Linked DNA regions of Homo sapiens: regions 2, 3 and 4 are each linked to region 1. Evidence: promoter capture Hi-C in 16 types of primary human blood cells and fetal thymus (Javierre and others, 2016). All regions are on one chromosome and are shown on one strand. The core of a region is centred on a gene start or on the middle of the fragment in contact, and the rest is flanking DNA. Distances in the headings are between cores, read along the strand shown. Region 1 holds the start of ARHGAP31-AS1 (ARHGAP31 antisense RNA 1). Region 2 overlaps B4GALT4 (beta-1,4-galactosyltransferase 4). Region 3 overlaps TMEM39A (transmembrane protein 39A). Region 4 overlaps B4GALT4-AS1 (B4GALT4 antisense RNA 1).

What was found. Contacts are between HindIII fragments. The CHiCAGO score rates a contact against its expected background, and 5 or more counts as called.
Region 2: a contact is called between a fragment that was not itself captured here and the fragment with the promoter of ARHGAP31-AS1 in region 1, in 1 of 17 cell types (activated CD4 T cells). The highest score is 5.7, in activated CD4 T cells.
Region 3: a contact is called between a fragment that was not itself captured here and the fragment with the promoter of ARHGAP31-AS1 in region 1, in 1 of 17 cell types (activated CD4 T cells). The highest score is 5.3, in activated CD4 T cells.
Region 4: a contact is called between a fragment that was not itself captured here and the fragment with the promoter of ARHGAP31-AS1 in region 1, in 1 of 17 cell types (activated CD4 T cells). The highest score is 5.8, in activated CD4 T cells.

The regions. Positions count from the first base shown.
Region 1 is chr3:119,321,506-119,324,722 of GRCh38, forward strand. ARHGAP31-AS1 (ARHGAP31 antisense RNA 1) reads right to left here and starts at 1,255. Exons shown (of 2, transcript NR_046748.1): 1 at 1,109-1,255. All of the region lies in intron 1 of ARHGAP31 (Rho GTPase activating protein 31), which reads left to right. RefSeq lists enhancers at 926-1,783, 1,784-2,640 and silencers at 1,203-1,562, 1,613-1,962. The HindIII fragment of the contact is 4,466 bases long and covers 1-3,036 here.
Region 2 is chr3:119,222,934-119,226,295 of GRCh38, forward strand. B4GALT4 (beta-1,4-galactosyltransferase 4) reads right to left here. Exons shown (of 8, transcript NM_003778.4): 5 at 1,125-1,312. Among named protein-coding and RNA genes, the nearest start is that of B4GALT4-AS1, 1.9 kb to the right of the region's middle. RefSeq lists a silencer at 2,355-2,527. The HindIII fragment of the contact is 1,235 bases long and covers 827-2,061 here.
Region 3 is chr3:119,436,641-119,439,780 of GRCh38, forward strand. It overlaps TMEM39A (transmembrane protein 39A), which reads right to left. Exons shown (of 9, transcript NM_018266.3): 6 at 1,115-1,463; 7 at 151-338. Among named protein-coding and RNA genes, the nearest start is that of TMEM39A, 25 kb to the right of the region's middle. The HindIII fragment of the contact is 5,541 bases long and covers 1-3,140 here.
Region 4 is chr3:119,246,540-119,249,902 of GRCh38, forward strand. All of the region lies in intron 3 of B4GALT4-AS1 (B4GALT4 antisense RNA 1), which reads left to right. Among named protein-coding and RNA genes, the nearest start is that of B4GALT4, 7.3 kb to the left of the region's middle. The HindIII fragment of the contact is 802 bases long and covers 1,195-1,996 here.

The sequences.
Region 1 (3,217 bases), core at 5-2,504:
TTCTATGTACATTTTCATATTGTGATTACACTGTGTGTGTGTATATATATATTATATATATATATGATTTTGTGTCTTGCTTTCTTATAACCGAAGTCTTTATTCAAGTTATAAAACCCTACATATAACATTTTAAGGCTCCGTAGGTTTTGTTTTGTTTTGAGACGGAGACTCGCTCTGTTGCCCAGGCCAGAGTGCAGTGTCACGATCTCAGCTCATTGAAGCCTCTACCTCTCGGGCTCAAGTGATTTTCCTGCTTCAGCCTCCCAAGTAGCTGGAACTATAGGCCCACACCACCACGCCCAGCTAACTTGTTTTTGTATTTTTAGTGGAGACGGGGTTTCGCCATGTTGGCCAGGCTGGTCTTGAACTTCTGACCTCGGGTGATCTGCCCGCCTCAGCCTCCCAAAGTGCTGGGATTACAGGCGTGAGCCACCACGCCCGGCCCATAGTAGTTTATCATATAAATATGCCAGTTTATTCCCTGCCTCCATTACTGGACATTTATAGTTATGATTGTTTTAATTTTATGAACAAGCCCACAGTGAATATTGTGAGGCATATGGCTCTTTTGTTATGTAATATTTCTTTGGAATAAACTCCCAGAAGTAAAATTGCTGGATTAAAAGGTGTGTTATTAGTCAGAACTCTCTTGGTTGTGACTGAAGGAACTCTGACATAAGAAAAAAAGTGGGGGTTAATTACTGATTCATAGAAGCAAACTTTGGCAAAGACAAGAAGGGAGCTGGCTTTAGGGAGCTGGGACCAGAGGCTGGAATTTTAACCTCCTGACTTTCTCCTTGTCTCTTGAATTTATCTTAGACATAAATGAAAATAGAGGTAACTCAAAGCGTCTAACCCACAGTGACAATTGCTGCTCTGTTTTTAGAGCCGGGATTTTGTTCGTGGACTTGCCTTGCCTGGTGGTTGAACTTTGCAGCCCCTTCCTCCTCCGGGCAGCTTCTCTCAGTGGCAGCTGTGTTCCCCATGGTTTGTCCTGGATGTCTCCCTTGTGCCATCCTTGCAAGCCCGCGGCCAGCGCCTCCACCCACGCTCCGGCCTTGCTCCCACTCCCACCGCTCTGCCACCTCCCACCTCAGCCTCCCACCTTGGTGTGGAGGGACCAGCGTCGAAGACAAAGGAATCTCTGACGAGAACCGGCCAGTCCGGGAGGGACGGCGGGGAAGGGGGTGCTGCTCTGGCGGAGCCCTCACTTCACTCGCTTCCCCTCGAGCGCCCCTCTAGGCTGGGGCCCGGCCGCTCTGGGCCTGCTCCTCCTCCCGCTCCTGTTGCGGGGCACCAGGTCAGACCCTACAGGGGGCTCCGCCAGGGGGAGGGGGAGAGGGGCTCCCTTCAAACTCGGCCCGGCCGCGGGGGTCCCGGGTGCCCTCTGCTGGGCTCCTTCCACGTCCTTGTCCCTCCTGAACTCCCGTTCCAGCCCTGCCCCCGCCCCGCAGTAGGGAACGGACTCGTTTCTGCCCCGCCCCGGGGTCCGGGCGCCCGCCCGGCGCTTCAGCTTCAGCAACGTCAAGGCCACGTTCCCTCCGCTCCAGCTCGAAAGACGGTGGCGCTGACTCTGCTCTGCGCGCCGCAGCTTCCTCCCGCTGCTCCGCCCAGCGGTTTCTGATCCCCTTTCGGCGCTGGGGACTCACACGCTGCGGCGACAGGAAAGCCCGCGCCCCCGGCCGCTTCCCGGAACGCCCTCGGGGACGGCTGAGTCACTTGGCGCCCGCCCGCGCGGCCACCGAGCCCAGAAGCGGGGAAAGCCCAGAAGCGGGGAAACCCCAGGGACAGCCGCCGGCCCTGGGGGCAGCCAGCGCTCCAGGCCGCCCAGCACCTCGGGCCCGGATGGGCTTCTCGCGCCCCAGGGCTGCGGCCACACCCCGCCGGCCCAGACCCCGCGGGTAGAGAAAGGAGGTGCAACCCTGAGAGCCAAGACGTTGGGCTTGGCTTTGCTTTGCGTTTCTTTCCTTTTTTCTTTTGTTTCTTTTCTTCTTCTTTTTTTTTTAACCACATCCAGGAAGAGGAGAAACCTGTCTCATGACAGGAAACGAAGAGGGAGGATGCATCCGAACTGAGGGACATTGTTTCAGTTGCCTCACCTGACATACTGTCTCACCTGAGAGAGGGAGGCCGAAGAGGCAGCCAATGGTGGCTGGAGCAAGCCCTGTCCTCGTTACCTGGGCTGTGGCTGAGCCCTGGGGCTCACCGGCTGTATGGCCCTGGGCAAGTCCTCGGAGCCTTAGGTTCTCTGCAAAATGGAGATGATGTTTAATAGAAAATGTTTCTATAACTTTTGTGGCTTACTTTTTGAAAAGCGAGGGAGGGACTTTTGTCCTTCCCTCCTCGCATCTCAGTCGCAGTGCTGGTTCACAATCAGGCTGTTAACGCGGTTTCCACATTTCCTGTCCTCCCCCTTCCCCTTTCCTGCTGGGAATAAGAAGGTGGGCCCCCAAGGAGACAGAGGGTACACTCGTAAATGAAAAAGAAAAGTCAGCACAAGGACCCTTTGCTGCGGAGATTTCTTTTTCCAGGTATCCTAAGTGGGGCTCTTGCCATCCCTGCCATCCCTGCTCTACACCGAAGGGGTGAAGTCCTGGGACTCTGTTATGCCCATCTGTATGTAATCCTAGGCAAGATTATTACAGTAGCGCTTTCCTCTTTTTAGAATATACCCTTGTCTAGCCCCTACCCCATCTTCAGGACAGTAAAGGTTCTCAACTCACTTCAAACCCTCCTAGCCGTCTAGAACAGTGGCTCACAACCGCAGACCCATAGGAAATGTAGGGCCATCTATGTAATAAATTTATCCGGATGTATTATAACAATTTTAAGGTTACACTTGTCCTTTCTTGAACAGGACAATTCTTTATTCTAAGACTATATGCTTCATAGTTTTAGTTATTTTGAATTGTCCATTCTGTTATGAAATACGATAGTTATTGTTGGTTGATGTCCTCTCTCAGAAAAATAAAAAATTAGCAGTCCTAGGTAGATCCCCCAAAATCTTTTAAACTTGATCTGTGAAATCCAAAAAGCTTGGGTACCATTGCTGTATTCCACATGTGGTTCACATCAAGGTTCCTTGTCCCTCCCAAGGAGATTTGTAGCTATTAAAAGAAACAAACAAACAAACATAAACAACAAAAACCCTTTCGAGAATCAGATCCTCAAAGAATGTTTAAGGATAGACGTGGAAAAACAAAGAGTGGGGAGA
Region 2 (3,362 bases), core at 194-2,693, 98 kb before region 1:
TCAATGTTACTTAAGAATTCTCTTAAATTGCCCAAAGTGAGAGAGCAACACAGAAGCCCAGAACAAATGAGGTATCAAGAGACTCACTTTCCACTTCACACTCACGTAGAGTACATACTGGTGGAATCTCCAGCATTATTTGATAGTTTCACAGTTCTTTCTCTCCTGCCTTCTTCTTCCTCTCTTCATTTGTCCCTCTCTCCCCTCCTTACCAAGTGCTTATAGTTGTATTTGCAGAAATGCAAAATTAACGCAACTCCACTGTAGCTACCTGTCTCCCCACACTGACACTCAACGGGGAGCCCTGTGAGGGCAGGTGCTCTGCCTTATTCAAACTGGTCTTATGGCCTCCAGCACAGTCAGCACCACAGATATGAGCACCCATGAACAGCAGGGCCTGGGGAAAGCTGACAGGTAAGTGTGCACACAAATGAGGGAATATAGTGTTTCATTTGCAGAGAAACATTCTGTGTCACTATTCCCGCTTGGTTGTGCTTGAATAGGAGCTGGTGAATCAAATAAGGCTGAAAAGCAGCTACACCCTTCTTAAGGGTGGAGGGGATGGGGAATGAAGACACAGATGATGGCATCTGGCACTTCTCACAGTGGCTTTGAGAGAAATGAACTTGTCCTGGGTGTCCTGGCTCCCGAGAAGACTACTCAGAGGACATGCCCTCCCCCACCTCTCCCCATACTCTAGAAAGAGGCCACAGTCTGGAAAGTGATGTCTCAACAGAGGTCTCACTAAGGACACCAGCCTGTTGCCTCCTAGAGGGGGAGTCAGGAATAGACAAACAAGTTACTTGCATTCTAGTCAGTGTGGGAAAGCTTGCGAAAGCCCCCCGACAGGGGCGCTGCGGGTGAGACTGGCCACCACCTGCAATGCTTGGATGATATTTCTCTCCAATGCTTTCCCTTGTCTTTGTGATCCTCTGCTGAAGTTGTAGGGCTTTTTCCTCATTACATTCTCTAACTTCTGTTTTGCACTTTAAGTGATGCATACATTATGGACCATTTTTTCTATTTCTCATTTTCTTATGACACTCTGGATGCTTGTTCCACCCAGTCTTGATCACAATAGTTGAGCTTCTCGACCTAAGCCACCCTCAGCAGAACCACCTTACCTGTACCCAGTGCTGTTCCTGCCAACCACCAGATGCTTGGGATGCTCCTCACACTTGTAAAGGTTAAAGTCATTCTCGGGTACCAGGTCCACATCGTGGAATATAAAGCAGTCCCAATTTTCTTCCTTGAGGGCTTCTAGATAGCCCACATTCAAGAGTTTGGCTCGATTAAACTTTTTACCTTCAGCCTAGAGATATGAAAATTAAAACTTGAAAAGCTCCTGAGATAAAGTTTCATATTGTTTGCCTCTTAGTTAGGATTCAGGAGATGGTATTATTCTAATTATTCTACGCACGAGACTACACTTGTGACATAAAGATCTGACAGAGAAGATGCAATGACAATAAAAGACCATTTGATTTTTTTCTTCGTGCTTCACACATACTTATATTCCAGAACTTAGAAACAGTCCTTGAAATCCAAAGACTTGTTGTTTAATGATAGAGAGTTCCAGTTTTGCAAGATTAAGTTCTGGAGATTGATTTCATAAATACACTGCATATATTTATGCAACCAATATATTGCATAATTATGCATAGATACATTGCATGTAAATATTCTTAACATTACTAAACTGCACACTCAATAATAGTTAAGATAGCAAAAATTTTAAAAAGTTAAAAAAAGTTAAGATGGTAAATTTTACATCGTGTGTTTCACAATTAAAAATTTTTTAAAAGCAGCTTTAAAATACAAATAACTCAAATAATCAATAATAATGTACACTTAAAATGTATTGAGTATAGCTCTCATGTTAAATATTCTTACCACAGTTAACAAAAAAAAATTTTCTCTTAAAATTTTACAAATACCTTTACGTATTCTGTATAAAACTACAAAACCTTTCTTATATACTAGTCATGTCAATTAGTATTACTGCTTCACAGTTCAACCCTAGGTAATCCCAATCTTACCCTCTGTTATGAATTTACACTAAGCTTCTAAGAGACTTAGTTAATAGCTTGCCAGAAAGGATCAAGAAATCTCAACCTATAGAAAGAGAAAGTTATTGCTAATATTTCTAAGCTACTTTAAAGTTTCTCAGAAATCCCTGTAAGAGAATCCTGTTATAATGCTACTGGTGGAGGCTAATCCTCACAGTGGCCTTATGGAGGTAGATTCGTCACTGGGCAATAAAAGAACACAGTTTGACCTGTAATATGATTGAAGCTGTAATAAAAAAATTAAATAATTTTTTCATGGCTGCTTCATTCAAATTCCTTCAGAATGAATTCCAGTTAAGTGGTTTATCATAAAAGTGCAAGTATTTCTCAGAAGTTACCACAATGTTTTCCTGATAAGAATAACACGAAGCAGACATATTTTTCTCTTTCTCTTTTTCTTTTTTTTTAATTTGAGATGGAATCTCGCTCTGTTGCCCAGGCTGGAGTGCAGTGGTGTGATCTTACCTCACTGCAGCCTCCACCTCCTGGGTTCAAGTGATTCTCCTGCCTCAGCCTCCTGGGTAGCTGGGACTACAGGCATGTGCCACCACACCCAACTAATTTTTTTTTTTTTTTTAGTATTTTAACAGAGTATTTTGTATTTTTAGTAGAGACAGGGTTTCACTATGCTGGCCAGGCTAGTCTCAAACTCCTATCCTCAAGTGATCCACCCACCTTGGCCTCCCAAAGTGCTGAGCCACCGGGCCTGGCCCAAAGCAAACATGTTTTTCTATTCATAAAAATAGTACTATACCTTGTAGGTTACTGTCCTGAGCAAGAACTCAGAATCAAATAAATCATAACTATGACCAACAACCTTAAAAACAAAAATAGCTATAAAACAATATAATAGTAACATTTTGTTCCAAGTACTAAAATACAGACATAGGTGTGCTATATAAGCACACTGATTTTCAAGAGCCTCAGTTTATCACCAAGTCTATACTGCAGAGCTGGTCCTCTGAGTTGTCCAAAGTTTTATCTAAAAGAAATATTACCTGTTCTAACAGTAGTGATGATTTTGCTGACATTCTTAGAATTTATAAGAATTTGAGGGGGAATTATCCCTCTTCTTGGCCTCCTTGGATGGCCAAGGATAACTGTGAAAAGTTTAGACACTGATGTTTAAACTGATGTCTTAGTTTTCTTTCAATAAACTTTAATGCCAAATAGAGGTATCTTTAATCATCCACTCCACTGACCTCAGAGGTAAGCTCTTCAAAAGCAGCCGATAGTTATGCTGTGCTCCTACCAAATCATGCTTCTGGAAGTCAAATAGATGAATCCAGAAAG
Region 3 (3,140 bases), core at 588-3,087, 120 kb after region 1:
TTCAGTTTAGCATGATGACAAGCATCCATGTAAGACAAAAACTAAAAATTAAATGTTCAAAGCCAAGAACAAGAATGACATACAAAGCAAATAAACATGATCAGCAGCATGTAGAAAGTGTTACATGGTTTTACCCTCTAGCTTACTCACATGTGCTGTGGAGCATTGCTGTAGGACCCATGTTCCAACTTCTGCCACTTGCCCAGGTGAGCAGCTGATTTATGTAGCAAATCACAGTATTTGGATGGCAACAGTTGCGTGGTGAGCATGACAAAAGCATTGATCCACACCATAATGAGGTGCTCACATGACCAGCGCATGTCATAGTACTGGGTACTCTGGAAGAGATCAGAAGAGAGAGAAATGATCCATGCACTGGTAAAAAGAGGCAGGGATGGGTTGGTGTACATATGCCCTGCAGACAAATGCCACACTGAGTCACACATGCACTGGTGGTCCTGCTGTCCGTGCAGAAAAGTTCAAGAGCAGAGTCCTCCACAATCCTTCAACCTGACTTTCTGGCTGTATGAGTTAGGGATGGGAGGGAGAGGCAATTATATTTTAAGTGTCTCCTTTCTAGAAGAACTGAGTGTTCTCTGAAGGACCATTCCAGCTGCAGAAGTACTTCTGAATGGGTGAAGAAAGGGCACTAAAATGTACCAAAAGATTTTGGGCCCAAGTGACATCCAGACCATTTTTCTTTTCTATTAAAGTAAACTGAAGTTTAGATAAGGGCTAGATTAAATTCAAGGAAACTCCTGATAACCATGTTAAGATCAACCACAGTAGGCTGAGTTTTACTGAAACCTTGGTCCTCTTAAGCTACTACATACTGATTCTATTATAAGTACATTTTGATTCTCCCCAGAAACTAAAAATACTTAAAAAAAAAAAAAAAAAGAAAAAAAGAGGGAACCACCACGGGTGCATCACATATATGGAAATACCTATCCGCCAACCAGGAGCGGTATTAGTGCACTCCAGATGCAGCCGAACTCCACCATCCAGGCTGCCAAAGGGGAGACAGAGAAAAGGGGGATTAAACAAGAAATACCCAGTTTATGTAATTCACACACAAATCCAGGAAGCACATAAAAGTAAGATAACCACTTACCTTCACAAAACACAGGGGGAGAAATGCAACATAGTAGGCACTGAAGAGGGAGTTGAAGAGAACCTCCTTGATTCTGTGGTTGAAATCTGCTTTCAGACATTCTACTTCATTGCGAATGAGGTCTGGAGATAGGGGACAACTGTGGGTGGGGATGGGTGTGGCATTATTAAACTGTTCTTTTAGCGACTCCAGCAACAAGGAGAGAAAGTCTTTGGATTTGGCCAAGCCTCCCACAGTCGAGGCACTTTCCTCTACTGCCTCGTGCTGAACCACATAGTTGTAGTCTGTGAGAAGAAGATGTGCTCTACTATCTTGATGAAAACAGCAAAGAGGAACATAAACACCAAACCTGTAAAACAAAGTGTGAAAATGAGACCACAGATACCACCTAAAATCACACCTTATAACTTACGTCAATATAACTTATAACTTAGGTCAATAAAATAGTCAGGACCCGCAGGAGTAAACATAACTCAAGAGGGACATTGCTGATAGTAAATTCATTATCTGGGGAGCTCTTCAATTTCTTTCCATAAGAGCAGTGCACATTCATTGTAGATTATTAAGAACCTACAGAAAAACCACAATGGCAAAACACACATCACTTAGCAATAATCATTTTTATAACTAGATGCACATATTTCCAATATAAAGTTTGTAAACTTTGTATTATAGTTACATATGCTTTTTTCCTTTTGTGTTTGGCTTCATACAGTACCATGTGTTTTGTATCCTGCTGTTTAAACTTTGTATGTGTGCATGTGTGTATATTGAGTATTTTCCCTGTGTAGTGAGTATTTTCTCAAGTCTAAATATTTTTCTATAGAAATTTTTAAAGATACAATAGTATTCTCATATAGAAATACCATAATTTACCCATTTCTCTCTTGTTGGAAACAGGCTGTTTCTTATTTTCCACTACTATAAATAACAATGTGATAAGGATTTTCCCAATACGTGTGTACGTTTGGTCATTTTAGTACAGCTTGTTCTTTACTTCAAATGTCCCTTTCTTAGTAGGGGGCCCTCCTGCCTCCCTACTGTATCACCCATCCCACTCCCACAGGCGACCCTTCTTCTCCTTTCCTGCTTATTTTTCTCCACAGATCTTACCATGTTTATTCGATTTTTAACTTTGGGGGTAGTTTTGTTTGTTTTCTTTCTTAGTCAATCTTCCCTTCACTACAATTTAAGCTCTATGAACCAGAGATTTCAACGTAATTAATTCACTGCTGTAACTCTGGTACCTCAGATAGTGGCTGTAACACTGTTTAAGTATGCAATAAACTTCTCATTAATAAAAAAAAATTCTGGAAGTACAAATGAATTTCTACCAGTAAAATTAATTGGTTAAAGAAGTGAACATTTTTGAGACTTCTGATAACTTCTTATAGTATTCCAACTGTTGGTTCCTTAAAATTTGTTTAAATACTTCAAGTCCTCATTAAGTAATTTCCACATTGTGACCTAGGTATTATAAATTAAATGGTCATTTCATGCACATAAATTCAGATATGAAAAATAGCAAATAAAAAGATATTTAGGGCCAGGGACAGTCCCTCATGCCTATAATCCCAGCACTTTGGGAGGCCAAGGCGAGCAGGTCACCTGAGGTCAGGAGTTCAAGACCAGCCTGGTCAACATGGTAAAACTCTGTCTCTACTAATAATACAAAAATTAGCTGGGTGTGGTGGCGCGCACCTGCAATCCCAGCTACTCGGAGGCTGAGGCAGGAGAATCACTTGAACCCTGGAGGTGGAGGTTGCAGTGAGCCGAGACTGCACATTGCACTCCACCCTGGGCAACAAGAGTGAAACTCCTTCTCAAAAAAAAAAAAAAAAAAGATATTTAGTTATACATTTTATAACAAAATGAACAGATGACACTTATCCATAGTTTTCTACAGAGGGAGAACTGATGTTACTAATTAAGAACATTCTTAGCATTAGCTCTGGGATCTACTGTGAATGTGCCCTTGGGAGGACAAGAGTGGGTAGAAGTAGAAGTATTAATTCTAATTTTTTTT
Region 4 (3,363 bases), core at 346-2,845, 75 kb before region 1:
AGAAGGCATCCTTGTTCCCCCTGGCACTACACTGCAGACACAGCTGAAGCTTCTTCCACAGGAATGCAGCATAGAGGCAGCTATAGACAGCCTTGCTGGAACAATCCAGGGTAAGCACAAGCCCCACAGGAGAAGCACCCCCCCAGATTCAAGCCTGCACAAGAGGCAAGAAACATCAACATTCCTGTAGATGAAAAGAGGTCCTGACTGATCTGAATAGCTGAAACACTGGGACAGGAATGAGACTGTGAGGTGAATAGCTTGATGACCTGAGAAGGGAGCTGAGGTAGCTCCTACTCCTCACCCTGATAAAACCTCAGGACATCAAATTGTGAGCTCCCGCAGCCATCCTCATCAAGGCTGGGGCCTGAGCCCACCATTGGGATTATATCTATTCACCTGCTTTAGCTACAACTAGTACCTACCCAAGAATACCTCCCCTATTGGCCTGAAGCCTGAATCGTCAACTCAGTAAATAAAATACTGGGGAAAAATTAAACAAATAAATATAGACCACAAGAGAATGAGATAAGCTTCAAGAGATCCCTGCCATTCCAAGTTCATAGGAGACAGTGAACTTGCCCACATACCAAGTACATAACTACTACAATCAGCATCAGGAGAGCCAGCACACAAAGACTCTCTATAACTAAGGAACTCATACAGAGTCTTCACCCCTGCAAGCACCAAGAATCAAATTAGACTGGAATAAATATTAAGGTCTAATCCTTAAGAGGGAAAAAATAAATTAAAAAAGCACAATCCCATCAAAAATAAATTCAAGAACAATTTGAAGAAATAGTCTACCAAAAGGAACCAGAAAAGTAATTCTGATAATATGACAAAACAGGGTTCTATGATACCCCCAAAATATAGTAGCTCCCCAACAATGGATCCAAACAAACAAACAAAAAATCTCTGAATTGCTGATAAAGAATTCTGAGGGTTGATAATTAAGCCACTCAATGAGAAGCCAGAGAAAGATGAAAACCAAATTTTCATTTTTTTAAAAGAAATTTAAAAAACAATACAGGATATGAATGGAAAATTTTTCAGAGAAATAGATATCATAATGAAAAAGCAATCACAACTCCTGGAAATGAAAGACATACTTACAGAAATACCAAATACAGGGGAAAGTTTCAACAATAGACTAGAACAAGTAGAAGAAAGAACTTTAGAGCTCAAAGACAAAGCTTTCATATCAACCCAATCAGACAAAAAAAAAAAAGAAAGAAAGAAAAAGAATTTTAAAAAATGAACAAAGCCTGCAAGAAATATGGGATTATATTAAATGGCCGAAGTTAAGAATAATTGGCATTCCTGAGGAAGAGAAATCTAAAAGTTTGGAAAACTTATTTGAGGGGATAATTGAGGAAAACGTCAATGGCCTTGCTAGATATCTAGACATCCAAATACAAAAAGCTCAAAGAACTCCTGGGAAATTCATTGCAAATAGACCACCACCAAGGCACATAGTCATCAGGTTATCTAAAGTCAAGACAAAGAAAAGAATCTTAAAAGCTGTGAGACTGGCTGGGTGTGATGGCTCACATCTGTAATCCCAGGACTTAGGGAGGCCAAGGTGGGAGGATCAACTGAGGTCAGAAGTTTGAGACCAGACTGGCCAACATGGTGAAACCTCATCTCTACTAAAAATACAAAAATTAACCAGGCATGGTGGCACATGCCTGTAATCCCAGCTACTTGGGAGGCTGAGGCAGGAGAATTGCTTGAACCTGGGAGGGAGAGGTTGCAGTGAGCTGAAATCATGCCATTGCACTTGAGCCTGGGCAACAAGGGTAAAACATCATCTCAGAAAAAAAAAAAAAAATCTGTGAGACAAAAGCATCAGGTAACCTATAAAGGAAAACCTATCAGATTAACAGCATATTTCTCAAAAGAAACCTTAGAAGCCAGAGAGGACTGGGGTCCTATCTTTAGCCTCCTTAAAGAAAATAATTGTCTACCAAGAATTTTGTATCCAACAAAACTAAGCTTAATCAATGAAACAGAGATAAAGGTTTTTTCAGACAAATGCTGAGAGAATTTGCCATTACCAAACCAGCACTACAAGAAATGCTAAAAGGAGTTCTAAATCTTAAAATACAATGTTTAAATACACCAATATAGAACCTCCTTAAAGCATAGATCTCACAAGGCCTATAACGCAATAACACAATTAAAAAAAAGTATTTAGGCAACAGCTAAAATGATGAATAGAGCAGTACCTCACATCTCAATACTAATGTTGAATGTAATGGCCTAAATGCTCCACTTAAAAGATACAGCATGGTGAAATGGATAAAAATCCACCAACCAAGTATCTACTGTTTTCAGGAGACTCACTGAACACATAGGGACTCACATAAACTTAAGGTAAAGGGGTAGAAAAAGATATTTCACCAAATGGAAATCAAAAGCAAGCAGGAGTAGCTATTCTTATATCAGACAAAACAGATTTTAAAGTAACAGCTGTAAAAATAGGCAAAGAAAGACGTTATATAACAATAAAACAATTAGTCCAACCGGAAGATATTACAATTCTACATATATATGCACCTGACACTGGAGCTCCCAAATTTATAAAACAATTACTACTAGACCTAAGAAATGGGATAGACAGTAACACAATAATAATGGAGGACTTCAATACTCCGCTGACAGCACTAGCCAGGTCATCAAGACAGAAATTCAACAAAGAAACAATGTACTTAAACTATACTGTAGAACAAATGAACTTAACAGATATTTACAGAACATTCTGCCCAACAACTCCAGAATATACAATACATTCTTCTCATCAGCACATAGAATATTCTCCAAGACAGTCCATATGATAGGCCATGAAACAAGTCTCAATAAATTTAAGAAAACTGAAATCATATCAAGTAGCTCCACAGACCATAATGGAATAAAACTGGAAATTAACTCCAAAAGGAACTCTCAAAACTAGACAACTACCTGGAAATTAAATAATCTGTTCTTGAATGATCTTTGGGTAACAATGAAATCAAGATAGGAATTTAAAAATTATTTGAACTGAATGATAATAGTGACACAATTTATCCAAACCTCTGGGATACAGCAAAAGTGGTGTTAAGAGGAAAGTTCATAGCATTAAATACCTACATTGAAAAGTCTGAAAGAGCACAAATAGACAACCTAATGTCATACCTCAAGGAACTAAAGAAACAAGAACAAACTAACCCAAACCCAGCAGAAGAAAATAAATAACAATGATCAGAGCAGAACAAATGAAACTGAAACAACAAAAACAAAAATACAAAAGGTAAATAAAACAAAAACCTAGTTCTTTGAAATAATAAACAAAATTGATAGACCATTAGTGAGATTAACCAA